3 separate regions of the Homo sapiens genome follow, and regions 1 and 2 are each linked to region 3. The links are contacts of gene promoters, found by promoter capture Hi-C in human tissues and cell types (Jung and others, 2019). All regions are on one chromosome and are shown on one strand. The core of a region is centred on a gene start or on the middle of the fragment in contact, and the rest is flanking DNA. Distances in the headings are between cores, read along the strand shown. Region 1 overlaps EPN2 (epsin 2). Region 2 overlaps ALDH3A2 (aldehyde dehydrogenase 3 family member A2). Region 3 holds the start of RNF112 (ring finger protein 112).

Region 1 (3,108 bases), core at 131-2,630, 160 kb before region 3:
CCAGGCTGGAGTGCAGTGGCGCGATCTCAGCTCACTGCAGGCTCCGCCCCCGGGTTCACGCCATTCTCCTGTCTCAGCCTCCCAAGTAGCTGGGACTACAGGCGCCCGCCACCACGCCTGGCTGATTTCTTTTTGTATTTATGGTAGAGAGGGGGTTTCACCGTGTTAGCCAGGATGGTCTTGATCTCCTGACCTCGTGATCTGCCCACCTCAGCTTCCCAAAGTACTGGGATTACAGGCGTGAGCCACTGCGCCCAGCCCCCTGTGTGCCTTTTTGATACTCAGAGCTGTCCTGGGATATAATGACTATACTATGGATGACAAAATTTGGGAAACATCTGATTGGAGAAAGAATTTGTATGTCACTTTATGAGAAGCAGCTGGGAGATGTAGAAGTATGGGCATTTCAAGGACAGTTTCATGACTGAGGCCAGTGTCAACCTGAAAAATATGGAACACGTGATCTAGAGGCAAATAATGGTTATAAATGAAATGCCACCAAGAACTTAATCTAATTGAGAAGACAAAGTTACTATTTGTGAGACAGAAGCTAGCAGTTTGTTGAGCCATGATTTTGATTCTTTGTCAGGGGGTCAAGAATGGAGAAAAAATTTAGAAGTCAGGGAAGCTATCAGGAGAAGGTAGGATTTGAGCTGGACCTTGAAGAACAAGAAACAGTATCCCTAAGTGGAAGGCAGATGGGAAGGTATTTCGGATCTCAGGAACAGCAGGAGTTAAAGCTTGAGATGGGATGGGGTAGGTGCTTGAGTGTGTGCTGGCTCCTGCAGCTGGTGACGGGTGGATGCCTGCTGGGAGCAGTGAGCTCCCAGGTGGCCAGATGGCCACTGGCTCTGATGAGACAGCAGCCTTGGGGTTTGGTTTTCTGGGTAGTAGGGAGCAGGGTAGGTCTTGAGTGGGTGCCACCTCAAGTGTTTGAGAAGGGGGCCCTGCGGAGTAATCTCTGTGGGTGGGGGCCTGGCCCAGACTGGCTTCCTGAGACTGGCTAGATAGCAGTTCTAGAGATGGAGAATGAAGAGAAGCCAGAGTTGAGTTGTGTTTAGGGAGTAAAGGGGGCCTCAGTGCTGGCTGGGAAGTTTGGATTTGACTCCCTGGGAGCCTGCAAATCATGTGGCCTGGAAAGCTAGAAAAATGCCCATGATGGGGCCCTACCCCAGACCAATCAAGGGGGAGCCAGTAATTTTTAGAAGTGCCCCCAGTTAATTCTCATAGTCTGTGTGGGTTGAGAAGCTGAGCTGTGTGCTTGGAGGAGCCTCTGGGAGTGTCAGGGATTGGAAGGGGAAAATTGAAGCCAGAAGAAGCCTTTGAAGTAATGTGGTGCGGGGACTGGGTTCCTGAGCTATTGTAGAATGACTGTGGATTGGCTGGTGGAATCAGGGCTGGAGAGGAACTGGCAGAAATGATCACCCTGGCTGAAATACGCCTCTAAGCTACCTTGGTAAATAAAGAAGGACAGCTTAGTAGAAAGTTTAAACAAGGGATGGGCAGAAGAGACTGTGATCCACCTATTTGGCAAGCCTCCTTTCAACCTGCATTTTAGCCACAGAGCAGGCACAGCAGGTTCTTATCTGTTCTCTCAAGCTTGCTAGCCAAGTTCCTCCCCACACCCTAAATTGTAATGACTGCAGCAGATGGTACATGTAAAATTTTAAATTACATTTCTTTAATTTTATTAAAGATAGTTGTAATGTGGAGTTACTAATTTAGATAGATTCAGTTTATTAGTCAAAGTCTAGAAGTGGGATTTTACATGGTACAGTTAATGCATGTCACAGTGTCATTGTAATATATGGTATTTCAGTCAAAAAATGAGTTTATAGTCCACTTCATTTATTCTTTACTTAATGCTTATTGAGCACATATGTATTATGTGCTGTTGGCTGGGAACGCCTGAGTGAATAAAATTTAAGTTCCTCTTACATTTCAAAATAGTTTTTGGTCTGCAGATGGTGGCTCTTGCCTCAGTAACAAGTAATATTAGCTTTGGGAGATAGCTGGGGGAGGGAAGTTTAGAAAGTGGTGTCAGACACTAGAATGGAACCTGGGAACCAGAGAAGGCTTCGAGGAAATAGTATGTGAGTCGAGTCTTGAAGGAAAAGTGGGAGTTCTCAGGGACAGAGATGAGAGGATCCCTGGCCGAGGGAGCTGCATTATGCAGAGGCCTGAGCTGAGCAAGGAGGGCGCAGAGGAGGAAGAGCTGGACATGTGGCAGAGGCCCAGCTGCCTGCTGACCAGACTCTCCAGGCAGGACAGGCGAGCTTGGTGAGGTTTGACTCATGGGCTGTGGTTTTCACGTAGCCTTTTGGCGGTGAGTGGGCAGGACTGTGGGCCTTCCACCCCACCTCTAATCAGAGCATCTCTGTGCTGGTGAAAGTGGGGAGCTAAAAAGAGCCCACTTGAGAAGTGTTCCTCTGCTGTTGAAGAACAACCGAAGTTATCTGGAGCTGCAGTGAGCAAGCTGGCACCCTGAGGGTGGCTGGGAGGGAGAGGTTGGAGGTTTCTTCCAGAGGACCTGAAGAGCCCTCACTTTTTTCTGTTTGCAGTGAGATGGATGTTCCCTCCTCTACTCCAGGCCAGTTTCCCAAGGCCTCTGGGTAATGTCTATGTGATTAAACAGTCTCTTGGGAATAGAACTCCTTTCAGTTAAGCAGCTCTATTTTCCAGAAATCCCTGGATAATTTTATGACCATGTGGTAAAGGTAAGGGACCTTGCGTTAACTTGGGGTGAATGTCAGAGAGCTGCTGTGTGCTAGGCTCCGTGCTGGGCACCCAGGAAATAGTCCTTGCCCTTGACTCTGCCCAGTCTGGACTAGAAAAGTGGTCCTTAGGTGGATTGAGCTCACAGATGTGTTTTGTTTGTGCCTCTTTCTAAACATTGAAATTGGTTGCTCTGTCAGTTTCCTATGGCTGCTGTGACAAATTGCCACAAATGCAGTGGCTTAAAACAATGCAGTTGTATAGGCGGGAAGTCCGACACAGGTCTTAATGGGCTGGGGTCATGGTGTAGTTAGAGCTGGTTCCTGCTGGAGGCTCTGGGGGGGAACCCGTTTTCTCTGCCTTTCCAACTTCTTGAGGCCTTTTGTGTTCCTT
Region 2 (2,751 bases), core at 252-2,751, 250 kb after region 3:
CATGCAGTTGCTACAGGGAGGAGTCTTCATTTAGCTTTAAGCGAAATACAGCTTAAAAATATCTTACCTGTATTCTGTACATCAACTTGTGATGGATTGAGGCCAGTTCTGGTTCTTGGAATGATATTTTTCTCTTTGTTAGAGCCATTTTGTTCTAATAGCTGTGATGATCCAATCAAGAAAGATGAAATGGAAGACAGTGAGATGTCAAGGATTGAATAGGACGTAGAACCAGAAGATAGAGGTTGAAGGTACCGCTTTGCCCCTGACCAGGGGTAAATTCTTCAATAACTGACTCTGTCCGGATAAGGAGGATAATAATGCTCTACCAGCTTCAGTTACCGTGTTAGGGGATCAATAATATATGCTATGTAGATTAAGCCATAGAAAAGTTAAAGCTTGAAACATTTGTTGGGCAGCTGAACCATGAAGTGAATGAAATTAATTCGCCTTCAAGTGGAAACATGAGATCCACAAGCCAGCTTTTACTTCACACTTCCACCTTGGAGTCTTGAATACCTCTCTGTCTTCCTTGCTTGCCATCTGTTCTCTTACTTTTGATGCTGTTATTGTCCAAGATGTTCTCTCTTAGAATAGCTGGTAATGATAGCACAATGCATAGATGGGCTCAGTCCACAGAAGCTACGTGAATTCTCCCAGTAACAGATGAGGAAATTGAGGCTCAGAGATGTTCAGTAGCTTGCCTAAGGTTGCATAAGCTAGTGAGTGGCAGAGCCCAGATTCAAACCAGATACACTTCAAAAGCAAGCGCTCTCAGCTACTGTGCCGGATATACCATTCATTCAGAATAGCGTGGGCTAAGCCCACTCTGTGTTGTGAGACAGAGAACATTCAGACTAAGACATGCATGACCTGTCCTGTGGGAGCCACTCTTCACCAGAGGCACTTCTGCACACACCCGCGTCTCATGCATTTTCCCTGGTCAAATTCAACCATTTGTTCTCCTTAGTGTCTTTGTTGCTGAGCTCATGTAAAAAAACACTGGAGTCTCCAGATTAGTTCTATGTGGGTTCATGCTTCCCAGATGCCATCGGACTGTGTGTTCTCCTCTTGTCCTTGGTCAGTTCCCTCTCCCATCCCTCACAGGGACTGGTCTTGACACTCTCTGGGTTTTACTGAATGTTACATGTTTATGTTGAAGAGATTGCTGATGTTAGACGTTAGGATTTATTTGGCAGTGCAAGAGTTTGTGTTTCTCTTTCTTTGAGGATCTCTATATTGTTATTAATGGTGGTGTTGAGGAAACCACGGAGCTCCTGAAGCAGCGATTTGACCACATTTTCTATACGGGAAACACTGCGGTTGGCAAAATTGTCATGGAAGCTGCTGCCAAGCATCTGACCCCTGTGACTCTTGAACTGGGAGGGAAAAGTCCATGTTATATTGATAAAGATTGTGACCTGGACATTGTTTGCAGGTGAGTCTGGCTCTCTGATTTTCTGAGGTTTTCCCAGCACAATGGAGACTTTTCCTGACAATGTTACTCTTTGTACTTGAACCCCATACCTTATGGCTCCAAGATACATTATTAAGCTTTGGTGGTTGATGTCCTCAAGAGTAACAGGAGTCTTTCACTGTCTCTTGGCGCCACTGTCAAAAATGGTGAGCTGTAAGTCCTGACATCATGTGGTTGTCCTTAGGAATTTTAAAAAAGTTATATCTGTTCTCAAGATTACAGCTAGATCTAGCAAGAAATTTTAACGTTCTTCTGGCCAGTGATCTGTGAAGTACATAATCCAAAGTATTGTGTGTGCCTAATAAAATCTTTAAATGCCCATTTGAGAGGGTATTATGCTGATATCTTAACTGAGATCCTTTGTGGGCAAAACAAGTGTTCCTCATTTTTTAACTGTGAATAACATCTTGCATCTGAAAATTAGAAAATAAGAGGTTTCAGGTTCTCTCTGCTAAATCCGGTTTAGCTACTAAGAAGTGCCAAATCATAGAACTGACTCTGTGCTCTGGGTGGTGTGGCTTTCTCTGCCCTTCAGAGATTCCAGGTCAGGGTTCCAGGTTGGCTTCCTAAGTAGAAATCCATTTGTCAAAACCAGACACCCTCAGTTAGTGAATGTTTAGGGCATGGGTTTCTGCCCATGCATAGGAAAGGTCTTCCCAAGTGGGGCAGGGCTCCACAAAGAGGAGGATGGCCTTGGAGGCTGGCTGACATCCTGCTTTATACCTGAACATCTTGCAGGCAGAGCCAAAAGCCACAACCAGGAGAGTCTGTACCGAACTCTGGTCATCCAGGACTTTCCTTTGGCTGGACTGGAAGAGGGGAAAGGACATTGGGAGGCTGTTTCTCCTCTTTTCCTGCAGCAGGCAATGGCTTCACTGTTTACCAAGTACTGTTTGCCGTGAGCTGGCCTGAGAACTTCCCTGCTATGTAAAATATTCCACCTCATTTGGAAAATACTTTCTAAGTTCCAAACAACTGATTTAGAAATGAGTTTTTAACTTTTTTATAAAAATTGCCAGATAAATATATGAATCTATTTTAGTTGCAAGACATTCAAACAACACAATGTAACAAATGAATATTTGACTGAATTACTGAATTATATAGCTGTTCTGGATGTTTTCCCCTCAGACGCATAACCTGGGGAAAATACATGAATTGTGGCCAAACCTGCATTGCACCCGACTATATTCTCTGTGAAGCATCCCTCCAAAATCAAATTGTATGGAAGATTAAGGAAACAGTGAAGGTTTGTATTAAAAACATCTGATTCC
Region 3 (2,932 bases), core at 155-2,654:
TGAGGCTTTGCTGCCAACACACAGGGGCTTGTCCCACCTGGGGCAGGAGGAGGCAGAGTCTATGGCACTGCTTCTCTGAATCTGATTGATTCAGCCCCACAATCTCAGGCCCTCCAGACACCAAAATGAACAAGATCCAGCCCCAGCTTCAGGGGTGTCTCCACCTGCTGAAGGTGGTCTCTGCTGAACTTTTCTAGGTTCTGAATCCCACCTCACCCCAACCCTTCTGCATCCTAGCTCATAGGATGTACGAATGACTCCCGTGCCTGGACTAGTGGCTTTACATAGGTAATGGTGGCTCCTCAGAGCACAGAGAGGTGCAGTGGAGTCCCAGAGCCCCTGAGCCGAGAATCAAGCCCAGATCTGCCTGGCTCTGAAGCCTGGGCTGCGCCAAGCCTATCACATATCCCAGCCCTCAACTGTCCAAGAACAAGACCGCACCCAGTTGGGAGGGGTGAGGAAAGGAGGCTCTAGGGAGGCCACAGCACCTGCACTGGGCCTAAGAGGGTGTCCCAGGAGGGATGAGAAGGAGCAGAGCAGCCAAGCCAGGGTGCAGAGGCAGGGAAGAGTGGGGCGAGAGAAGGGTGGAAGGAAGGTTCAGCCCAGTCCGCAGGCCGGAGAGTTTGGATTTTGATCTGATGGTAGTAGGGAGACACAAAAGGTGTTTGCGCAGTGTGAGGTCATCTGTGCTTGGGGAGCCTATGCTGGCTGTGCACTGGGGAGTGGAAGGGAGGCAAGGAGCCCAGTCAAGAGGCCATTAGAAGGTCCAGAGGTGGCTCATAGTTTTGATAGATTTCATCCTGCTCAAGTTTGAGGCAGAGTGAAAGCTATTGGGAGGGAAATACACCAGAGGACACGGAGGGCCCATGAGTGCTGAAGAAGGCTGCAGCTGGGTTGGGCGTCGATGACATAAACCTGAGAGAGAGCAGGAGGATGTGCAGGGCCATGTGAAGTAGGGTCTGCATTTGGGGGCTCTGTACATAGTAGGTACTCAGTAACTGTTCATTGGATGAATGGATGAATAACTCCTTGTCTCTGGGTCAGCTCTGGTCTTACCCTCTCCTGTTTCTCACACCTCTTCTCTTTGCCCACCCTGTCCTGTGGCCCTGGGGAGACCTCAGCTGGCCCAGTAGAGGCAGTGCTGGCCCATGGTTCTGCCGGAGGCGCCTCCATGTTTGCGGGTGCACCGCACGCCTTCTCCCTCTCTGTCCCCCTCCCCCTCCCTGTCCTTATCTTTCCCTTCTGTCTCCATGGCGACTCACCACCTCGGCTTGCCTGCATCCCAGCCTCTGCCAGGGATTCTGAGCCGGGCTCCATCCCTCCCTCCTCGGAGCCCTGCTACCCGCAGCCGTGTCTCCTCCCCCTGGGGTGAGTCCAGCAGCAGCCTCCTCTTTCCTGACTGTCACATTTCTTTTCCAGCTCTGACCGGGAGTCAGCTCCTCGGGGATACCATCCCCCGACCTCACCTTCTACCTACCGCAGCCTGCTAGCCTTTCCGGGAGAAAAGGCATCCTTACCTCTGGTTGAAGGTCTCGGGGCCTCCCCCTCTGCATCCGGACCCTCTCCCCATCCCAGCCTCCCATGCCAAGGCCCGCCTTGTCAGTCACTTCCTTTTGTCATCGGCTTGGCAAACGGGCAAGTCTTCAGTCCTAAGATCGGGAAGGAGAGTGGGGTGGGAAGGGCCCTCCTTGGGCTGGGGGATGGGCCGGGGGTGGGGAGGATGAGGGGTCCCTGGAAATCCAGGGTGAAGATAGAAGTCTGGATTATGTTCTAAATCTTTTTTTTTTTTTTTTTTCTCCAAGGAGAGAAAACAGAGCTTCATGGGAAACAGCGGCAACAGTTGGTAAGTAGCAGGGCCTTCCAGGCTGGGATGGGTGCAGTGAGGCCAGGCAGGTCAGTTGAAATGGCCGGTCCTGGAACACAGAGCCCGGCAGCCCAGCCGGGAGGGCTGTCCGCCTGAGGCTGGATCCGCCAGGCTGTGGAGGGAGGGACAGGAAGAAGCAGGTGGGTGCTGCAGGGAGGCAGATGCCAGCTCAGAGCAGAGAGCGGAAGGAATCTTCTAAGATCCAGAGCCATCTGCCCAACTGCAGCACAGGCTGATGGCTTCTCCTCACTGTCCCTGTAGCATGGGGTTGTGGAGGGTATCATCCCTGGGGGCCTGGCTGAAGTCAGCACCTCATGGAGGGAGCCCCGCTGTAGAACGCCGGGAGAGGCTCTTCCCAAGCATTTGCACCAGGCACTGTGCAGACAGCTGCACACGCCTCCTCTCGGATGGCCACCCCAACGGCCCCATGAGGGGTATTGCTATCCTCTCCATTGGGACAGTTAGGAAATTGAGGCCCAGAGAGGGGAAGGAACTTGCTTGCATTTGCATGGCTGGGATGTGGTGGAGTCCATTCCACTCAGATTTTCTCCCTCTCAGACTCTCTCACCATTGCTCTGCTGCCCCCACTCTGAGGCCCCCAGGTCCTAGGACACATGTCAGTGAGGAACGGGCAGAGCTTGGCCTCTCTGGGAGCAGCTCCGCCTGTCCATGGAGGCACTGATGGAAATTGGGTTGGCACAAAGGGACCTCCACTCCCAAGCCATCAGTCTTCCACCACAACCCTGGCCGGTACCCCCTGCCCCCAATAGACATCCTGCTTTTCAATGGCCTGTTTTGCCCCACAGGTCCCATACACCTTTCCCCAAGTTGGAGCTAGGCCTGGGGCCCCAGCCCATGGCGCCCCGGGAGCTCCCTACCTGCTCCATCTGCCTGGAGAGGTTGCGCGACCCCATCTCGCTGGACTGTGGCCACGACTTCTGCATACGGTGCTTCAGCACACACCGTCTCCCGGGCTGTGAGCCGCCCTGCTGTCCTGAGTGCCGGAAGATATGCAAGCAGAAGAGGGGCCTCCGGAGCCTGGGCGAGAAGATGAAGCTCCTGCCGCAG

Evidence for each region. Contacts are between HindIII fragments. The study calls those that stand out against the background at their distance.
Region 1: a contact is called between a fragment that was not itself captured here and the fragment with the promoter of RNF112 in region 3, in 3 of the 25 tissues and cell types used here (dorsolateral prefrontal cortex, mesenchymal stem cells and spleen).
Region 2: a fragment that was not itself captured here is called in contact with the fragment with the promoter of RNF112 in region 3 in 3 of the 25 tissues and cell types used here (dorsolateral prefrontal cortex, mesenchymal stem cells and mesendoderm cells).

What each region holds. Positions count from the first base shown.
Region 1 is chr17:19,246,810-19,249,917 of GRCh38, forward strand. The region is part of intron 1 of EPN2 (epsin 2); the gene reads left to right. Among named protein-coding and RNA genes, the nearest start is that of EPN2, 11 kb to the left of the region's middle. The HindIII fragment of the contact is 3,795 bases long and covers 1-3,108 here.
Region 2 is chr17:19,655,137-19,657,887 of GRCh38, forward strand. It overlaps ALDH3A2 (aldehyde dehydrogenase 3 family member A2), which reads left to right. Exons shown (of 10, transcript NM_000382.3): 4 at 1,230-1,438; 5 at 2,609-2,726. Among named protein-coding and RNA genes, the nearest start is that of ALDH3A2, 7.8 kb to the left of the region's middle. The HindIII fragment of the contact is 6,920 bases long and covers 1-2,751 here.
Region 3 is chr17:19,409,828-19,412,759 of GRCh38, forward strand. RNF112 (ring finger protein 112) reads left to right here and starts at 1,405. Exons shown (of 14, transcript NM_007148.5): 1 at 1,405-1,635; 2 at 1,803-1,843; 3 at 2,671-2,932. The coding sequence starts at 1,582. The HindIII fragment of the contact is 25,812 bases long and covers 1-2,932 here.